Linked DNA regions of Homo sapiens: region 1 is linked to region 2. Evidence: promoter capture Hi-C in human tissues and cell types (Jung and others, 2019). All regions are on one chromosome and are shown on one strand. Each heading gives the region's core, a stretch centred on a gene start or on the middle of the fragment in contact. The rest is flanking DNA. Distances are from core to core; before and after follow the strand shown.

Region 1 (4,299 bases), core at 664-3,163, 190 kb after region 2:
CGGTGCCTAGCACATCTACTGACATAGAGCAGATGCTAAAAATATTTTTTATTAAAAAAAAAAGTTTACCCAAACAATTGCTGTGCACTGAGCTACTTGATGTAATATATACATGGTGGAGGAGCTGGCTCTATTTTCTGTGTGTCCGACATGCCTCAACCCACAGTTGGACCCAGGGAAATAAGGATATTTTTGGAAAGCCTGAGAGCATTTCAGAATTAAGAGGAAAAAGCAAATTCACCGCTTCTGAAAGTGTTGCCATAGTAACTCAGCACAACGCAGGGGGAGAAAACGCTGTCTCATCAGAGCACAGCATCTTAGATTAGCAATAATGGAAGAAGCACTTGCCCTGCGGGGACAGAAAGGCTCAGATGGTGTGGTCCAGGGCCCTGGGGACCTTGTCCTCCACGCGCATCCCATGGTCCATGGTGAGAATTCAGGGGACTGGGACAAGCCCCAGAGCCACAGCTTGCATTCAGAGGAGGCTGGCTAAGAACCTTAAGAAGAAACAGCCAAGGCCTGTTTGAGATGCCCCACCTCCCTGGCTGTACCTGAGGAGCTCCTCCACGTGGCTGTGGCTTCCTGAGGTGGGGATAAGGGGGAGGAGGCTGTGCCTCTGTTGGCTCAGCTATGGGAAGTTCAGGCCACTTTCACTGGATCTCAGCGGTCAAGCAAAGCAAGAGGATGGGGAGTTTAAAAATTTTCCCTTGGGGAAGAGCTGGCAAAGGTTGCCATAAATTAGTATTTATTCTACCCCAATTAACTCGATAGCATCTTTGAAGTGATTCAGCAGTGTCATTGGAACCAAATGGGCGTCCCCTGTGTGGGTCAGCAGCCTCCTAATCAGATTAAATTCCTTGCCACTGAGCAGAATAAAGTCTCAGGGCCTTAGGAGGATGGGTGGGGAATGTGTTTGTTCAATTGTTATCTCGTTCATTGGCTGAACAGACCTTTTACTGAGCACCTACTACATGCTGGGGGTGGAGGGGGTCAGGCTAGAAGCCAGAGGTACCAAGAAAAAAACTATGTAATCCCTATTTTGGAGGAAGAGAGAGAGAAGGGGAAAGTGGTGGGGGGTGATGAAGGCTAAGAGGAGAGGACAAAAGGAATAAAAGTGAAACTGAGCATCATTCTCCATCAGCGAGCACACGCATACTGGAGTGAAGCGGCGGCCGGGGCAACGGCAAGCCCAGGATGTTTACCTCCCTAAGTGGATCCTTTTGGTTTATTTTTAAACATCCTCTCCTCTATATGGCAAAATTGTCTTCAGTAGTAATCATGGCATGAAACAACAGCAACAAAAGGCCAGATTCTCCACTGGAGATGCACATCGGAATCTCCAGGAGGACGTTCTAAAATGCTATAGTCTCCTCCAACCAATGTAGCTCTCAGGGGAACACACTGCACCCTCCTCCCCAGGGGCACCTGTATGAGCAGAAGAGGAAGGCACAGAGGTGGCCATCCTGTGCCAACACAATCCGGCTCAGAACCCTGCAGCCTCACAGTTATTTCAGTACACCCAGCTGGGTCAGAAGCCAGAGAAAACTCCCCCGACCGCTACACATGATGTCCAGGAAGTCACGTCAAAACCCCCTACCTATGTATGGGAGGAAGACAGCACACTGGGTTAGGAAGAAAACAGGGCCAGAGAAGCTAAGGGAGGTGGCACCATGTGTGTGCACAATCCCTGCCAACCAGCAAAGCCTGTTCAACAGAGCTGGCCAGAGCGGAATCCCAGCATGGAAAATGCAAAATGCCAGGAGAGCAAATTAAGATGAGGACGTGACTTTTTTATTTTTTAATTTTTTTAATTTTATTTTTCCATGAGTTATTGGGGTACAGGTGGTTTGTGGTTGCATGAGTAAGTTCTTTAGTGGTGATTTGTGAGATTTTGGTGCACTCATCACCCGAGCAGTAGACACTGCACCGTATTTGTAGTCTTTTATGCCCCCTCTTCCACTCTTCCCCCAAGTTCTCAAAGTCCATTGTATCATTCTTGTGCCTTTGCATCCCCACAGCTTAGCTCCCACATACCAGTGAGAACATATGATGTTTGGGTTTCCATTCCTGAGTCACTTCACTTAGAATAAGAGTCTCCAATCTCATCCAGGTCACTGCAAATGCTATTAATTCATTCCTTTTTATGGCTGCCTAGTAGTCCATCATATATATATATACATACATATACACATATATATACACATATATATGTGTATATATGTGTATATATATACATATATGTATATGTGTGTGTGTGTGTGTGTGTGTGTGTGTGTATATATGCACCCTAGTTTCTTTATCCACTCGATGATTGATGGGCATTTGGGTCAGTTCCACGATTTTGCAGTTGTGGATTGTGCTGCTATAAACATGCCTGTGCAAATATCTTTTTCACATAATGACTTCTTTTCCTCTGGGTAGATACACAGTACTGGGATTGCTGGATCAAATGGTAGTTCTACTTTTATTTCTTTAAGGAATCTCCACACTGTTTTCCATAGTGGCTGTACTAGTTTACATTCCCACCAGCTGTGTAGAAGTGTTTCCTGCTCACCACATCCCTGCCAACATCTACTGTTTTTTGATTATGGCCATTCTTGCAGGAATAAGGTGGTATCGCATTGTGGTTTCGATTTGCATTTCCCTGATGATTAGTGATGTTGAGCATTTTTTCATATGTTTGTTGGCCATTTGCATATCTTCTTTTGAAAATTGTCTATTCATGTCCTTAGCTCACTTTTTGATGGGATTGTTTATTTTTTTTATTACTGATTTGTTTGATTTTGTTGTAGATTCTGGATATTAGTCCTTTGTCAGATGTATAGATAGTGAAGATTTTCTCCCACTCTGTGGGTTGTCTGTTTACTCTGCTGACTGTTCCTTTTGCCGTGCAAAAGCTCTTTAGAATAATTAGGTCCCAGCTATTTATCTTTGTTTTTATTGCATTTGCTTTTGGGTTCTTGGTCACCAAATCCTTGCCTAAGCCAATGTAGGGACGTAACTTTTGTTGTTCCTCAAAAGGATGCCACATGGCTGGGTGTGGTGGCTCACCCCTGCAATCCCAGCATTTTGGGAGGCTGAGGCAGGTGGATCACCTGAGGTCAGGAGTTTGAGACCAGCCTGGCCAACATGGTGAAACCCCGTCTCTACTAAAAATACAAAAATTAGCCCGACGTGGTGGCGTTTGCCTGTAGTCTCAACTACTGGGGAGGCTGAGGCAGGAGAATCACTTGAAACCAGGAGACAGACGTTACAGTGAGCCAAGATTGTACCACTACACTCCAGCCTGGGTGACAGAGCGAGACTCTGTCTCAAAAAACAAACAAACAAACAAAAGGATACCACAGTCCTGTTCCTTGGGTGGACAGTACTTTTCAAGAGGTCAGTTCTTATACGGAACCTCCATCCTATTCACCCTCTGTTCCTGAGGGGATGGCAGCTTGGACAAGAGCAAGGAGGCCTGAGACCCGCCCCAGCTGCAAGTCAACGGCTGCTTCACAGCTCCCTGGCCTCTGCTTACCCAGCTATCAAACAGATATGACGATCCCTGCCTCATCCACCTTCCAAACTCTTTAAAAGCATCAGATGAAAAAATTTTTTTCTGTGATAAAAGTACTGACATCCACTCTTTTTGTGACTCTGGGCAGAGAGGGTCTGTGGTGTGTCTTTGATCCTCAGTGTTTTGCACATAGCAGGCACTCAATAAATGCTCAGTGGCTTGTTTGGGCAAAATCAAGTCTATATTATGCTCCATAAGTAACCTGTTTGTTGGAAAGAAAATCATCTCAGAAACAAGACTGGATTCATCCTGAGAGTATGTAAGGGCACTCCGAAGGCCAAGGAAGAATGTACCTGGCAGCCCAGGAGTGAAGACAGCGCTTTAATCCTCTGTTGAGAAACCTGGGTTCCAGTTGCTGAAATGTTTGGCAAAGGGATCTGGACCACTCCCTAGCGGTTCTGACACGGATGCAGCTCAGAGTGGTGGAATTGCGAGGATGTGAACCTTAGCAGCCGTGAGCAGGGAGCTGGGCAGGAGGACTTTTTCCTAAGAGGCAGGAAATGCCTCCTTTCCAATTGAAACAGGCAGTGCTGGTGTTTCAAATTATTACCATAAAGACACATGTGGAGGGCTGCAATCTCCATGTCAGCTTTTGCAAAAGGCAGGGGAGAGAGAAAGTAGATTGACGAAAGGAAAACACGAAGATCCATTGGTCCTTTTTGTTTTCTTTCTTGATTAATGGGGAGCATTTGGAGCTGGTGATGCTCATCTCATGGTTGAGGGTGAAAGAGGACTAGGGG
Region 2 (4,147 bases), core at 1,373-3,872:
ATACGTGTGGGCTGGGCACGGTGTGGCTCATGCCTGTAATCCCAGCACTTTGGGAGGCTGAGGCAGGTGGATCACATGAGGTCAGGAGTTCAAGACCAACCTGGCCAACATGGTGAAACTTTGTCTCTACTGAAAACACAAAAATTAGCCGGGCATGGTGGCAGGCGCCTGTAATCCCAGCTACACAGGAGGCTGAGGCAGGAGAATTGCTTGAACCTGGGAAGCGGAGGTTGTGGCGAGCCAAGATCGCACCACTACATTCCAAACTAAGGCACAAAGACAGCACCTGTGAAAATATCTGGGCTAAAATATTTATGCAATTCCATATGCAAAGAATTGGACTTGAGAACAGCCTCTGCCTGGCAGAATTTGCTGAGAGCTTATCACTCAGAACCTGCACAGGGAACATTTTCTCAATATATTATGGTTCAAGAGAAGAGTCAATTGAAGGTACTAATTTAAATTTGTTAATTGTAAAATTTGTGGAAAAAAGATTTCAGGCAATTATATGGAAAAATTAAAAATAACAAGACCCCACTGAAGAAAATACATTCTTGTGAAAAATGCCAGTGACAGGGTATCAGTCAGGTACAAGAAACTGTAGCATGTGAATATACAACAAGAACAATTATTTTGCTTATCTTATTTTTAAATGTTCAGTTGATTAACATAAACATGTTTTCTTTTGCTTTAATATTCATAGGTGTATGCATATATATTTAAAGACTTTTTTGAAAATAGTTTTTATCTAGAACTACTTTATAACACCATCAATATAATATAACCATTTTGTTGGATTTTTTCCCCTTCCTTCCTTCCTTCCCTTCATTCCCTCCTTCTCTCCTTCCCTCCCTACCCTCCTTCCCTCCTTCCTTCCTTCCTTCCTCCATCCCTCCCTTCCTCCCTCCCTTCTTCCCTCCCTCCCATCCTGCTTTCCTTCCTTCCTTCCTTCCCTTCCTTCTTTCCTTCCTTCCTTCTTTCCTCTCTCTTTCTACCTGTAAATACTAATTTTTGGGGGAAATAATTTTTGACTATTGGGGTGCCCCGGCAGTGTGCACACACATGGCCTGACCATCCCTCTCCTAGCTATCTCTGATGATGGCCAGGAAGCTGAGGTCTATGGTGACAGAGGCTGGCAGGTGGGAATCTGTAGAATTCCCCGGCGATTGGTTGGGATTTCTCAGGGAGAAAGGAGGCGAGGTCCTGACCTGTGGTGGAGGGGCTGGGGCATTGAGAGTTTGAGAAGAGATGGGAGGGTGTTGAGCACTGATATGGTTTGGCTGTGTCCCCACCCAAATCTCATCTTGAGTTGTAGCTCCCATAATTCTCTCGTGTTGTGTGAGGGACTTGGTGGGAGATAATTGAATCATGGGGATGGAGAACAAAGCCAAGCCAATATCTTGACTTTAGCTCAGCGAGACTGAGTTTGAACTCCTGATCTCCAGAACTGTAAGATAATAACTTGCATCGTTTTAAGCCACTCACTTTGTGATAATTAATTATAGCAGCCTTAGGAAACCAGCACGGGGGTGAGGCTGCACCCTGCCCAGGAAGCCAGAGACGACCAGCTACGCAGGGACTTTAGCTCGAACCTGATTAGGTCAGTGGACACCGCCCCCATCCCCAGGACGGGGAGGTGGCTGGGGCCACTGCAGCCACAGCATGTGTCTGCTCACATGGGGCTTATTTTTAAAGGGATTGTCCTCACCTGCTGCTGTCTGTGTTTATAAAGTTGGCTAGAGAGGAGAAATCTTCCTTTGCCAGTTTTCAGCTTTAGCTCTGATATTTGCCTGGAACATAGTAGGTGCTCAATAAACAATATCTCTGGATATTGTTAGTAATATGTGACCCTATTTGAAGAACTCAGAAGGGGCACTGGGCAAGTCTACAAGAGATGGCAATTCTGTAATTCCTGTGTGGTATTTTCTGAATTCTGCACATTTTAACCTAGGCTATGAGACAGTGTGACTTTCTTCAACAAATTAGTTAATTCTTCAAATTAACTCCAATTTCAACAGCATGGTGATGTTAAAGGCATTGGAAATTCAGCCACAGATGTTAAAGACCATCAGCACGGTCACATAGTAAGATGCTACTTTCAAGCCACGAATAACCCAACCAGTTATTGGTCTTATGAAATCTTGTAAGCCATCCCAGAGAGACTAATTTAATTTTTATGATTCAGAATTTGCAGGCTGTAACTGGTCAGTCCATGCGAACTCTGGTGGCTGCATTCAGCCCTGACATGTTTCACCTGACTTTGATATAAGGAGCTACTGGAACCTTCCTACGAGTTCTAAAACCTTTCCCTCCTCCTCCTGTTCTGGAAAAGCAATTAAGACCCAAACTAGGCATGAAATAAAAGTCTCTTAAATTGATTTAGAATTATTTTTAAAAAGTACCCTCACAGAAGTGGAAAATTTTGCCAATAGGTAGGTGTAAAAGGAAGTTTTTTGTTTTTCTAAGAGACACAGATTTCCTCTCATATTGTACTCTCATAAAAGAAAAAAAAAAGGTGGTCATTTACTTACTCAGGCAGAAAATGAAGGCGTTCACAACTGTAGTTGGGTTTTCTGATAGTGAGAGCTGCTTTTGGAGGAGTTTTCTCTTCTGGGAAGTGCTGTGGAGATGTGGTTGCTTTAAATTATATAACCTCCGCTCCAGTGATGTCATTGTGGGGATTGCCGCAAAAGTGAGTCTTTCGGGACTCACTCCAAGTGGATTTGGAAGGAAAAATCCACTCTCATTTCACTTTGCACTTTAGGGATGATAAGAGATTATTCAGCTACCATCTCCCCCTTTACTTTGGTACCATCTGCAGAGGTCTGCAATCCTGCCCAAGACCTGTATGTTGGCAAACACGCCCTAAAAACATGTTTTGACATCGCCAACTTGCCCCAAGGCTCGCAAAGTGTCAGTGAACATTGAGGGATGGCTTTTGGCCCCTTCACTATTGGCTTCTGAATGTCTGGGGCTCTGCAGCAGCTTTTGTGGGAGCCACTTCGAATGGCCTCTTTTGAATTTTGGTCATGAAAGATACATCGCCAAGAATCCATCAGAGTGGACCCATCACACAAACAGAGAGCTAGGAAAACGTTTGACTCATGCAATGTTCAGAGTTGAGTAAGACCAGATACATTTTTTCCTAATCCTCCTTGGCGTCTCTCAAATTATGTCTGCATGGGTCAAGTTGAACTACTCAAGACCTCATGTTTCAGACAGTAAGATATTTTTGGCTTTGAGAATCAGGTGACAAGATTCTCCAACTGAAGGCCCCTTACCTGTCAACTTACAAATTAAGATCTTTCCAGGCCACCCCCTACACGTAGGAGAACTCATTCATGCCAGAATTCAGGACTTCGAGTCTGACTTCTGGAAAGGTGACCCTCCAAATGTTTGGAGCAGAAGGTGTCACCTCTGTCTTTAGAATCTTGCCTTTTGCTTGTGTTCCCTTTTTCTGCTAGTGACATCTCAGCGGGAGCCAACTGCACTTCAAGTTTTCCTGCTGTCTTCTCCTGTTGCTGAAGACCTTAAAACTGTGGAAGTAGGTGGAACAAATAGCATTCTGAGGCTCAGTAGCGGATGTACATTTCAGGGAAGAAGCTGGAATTTGCCTTAGAGGATAGGATGGTCCCCTCCTATCAGGAGAGACCTCCTGGGTGGGATTTTTAATAAAAAAAAATTGTCAACAGGCAAGCATCTTCCATTACTCCCGGGATAGATCTGAACCGGAGGAAGGCTCCAAATCTTAGCCTTTCCTGTTACTTAGTAATGTAGGCGGGGGTCTCTCCAGCCCGTGGCTGGCTTATTCTCCCTTCAGTATGAGTTTAGACTATACTGTTTCTGAGAAGCGTTTGTTCTTAGGAGATGTCTCCCTGTTTATTCACCCAGGAGTGCGTATAAGGCCAGCTCTGCCACAAAGAGCACGTGCAGGTCTCATCTCTGCTTTGCCTCTTGCTGGAAGACAGTCTGTGAAGAGAGCTGGCCTGAGTGAGCTGGACTTCGGAGATGCATCTGGCTGCCTTGCCAAGGTGGTGGAGGGCGGAAAGGAAAGTTCTTTAAGAAGACCCACGTTTCCCCTTGTTGCTCATCTCCACGGGAAATGCGAGACAGGCCCGGGCTCAGGGGAGCAGAGGGTCTCCTACTG

What was found. The method cuts DNA at HindIII sites, captures the fragments that hold promoters and counts their contacts. A contact is called where the count stands out against the background at its distance.
Region 1: a fragment that was not itself captured here is called in contact with the fragment with the promoter of BDKRB1 in region 2 in 1 of the 25 tissues and cell types used here (IMR-90 fibroblasts).

The regions. Positions count from the first base shown.
Region 1 is chr14:96,062,341-96,066,639 of GRCh38, reverse strand. All of the region lies in intron 1 of C14orf132 (chromosome 14 open reading frame 132), which reads right to left. Among named protein-coding and RNA genes, the nearest start is that of C14orf132, 25 kb to the right of the region's middle. RefSeq lists a silencer at 3,755-3,932. The HindIII fragment of the contact is 6,124 bases long and covers 1-4,299 here.
Region 2 is chr14:96,254,685-96,258,831 of GRCh38, reverse strand. It overlaps BDKRB1 (bradykinin receptor B1), which reads right to left and starts at 2,622. Exons shown (of 3, transcript NM_000710.4): 1 at 2,532-2,622. The HindIII fragment of the contact is 16,224 bases long and covers 1-4,147 here.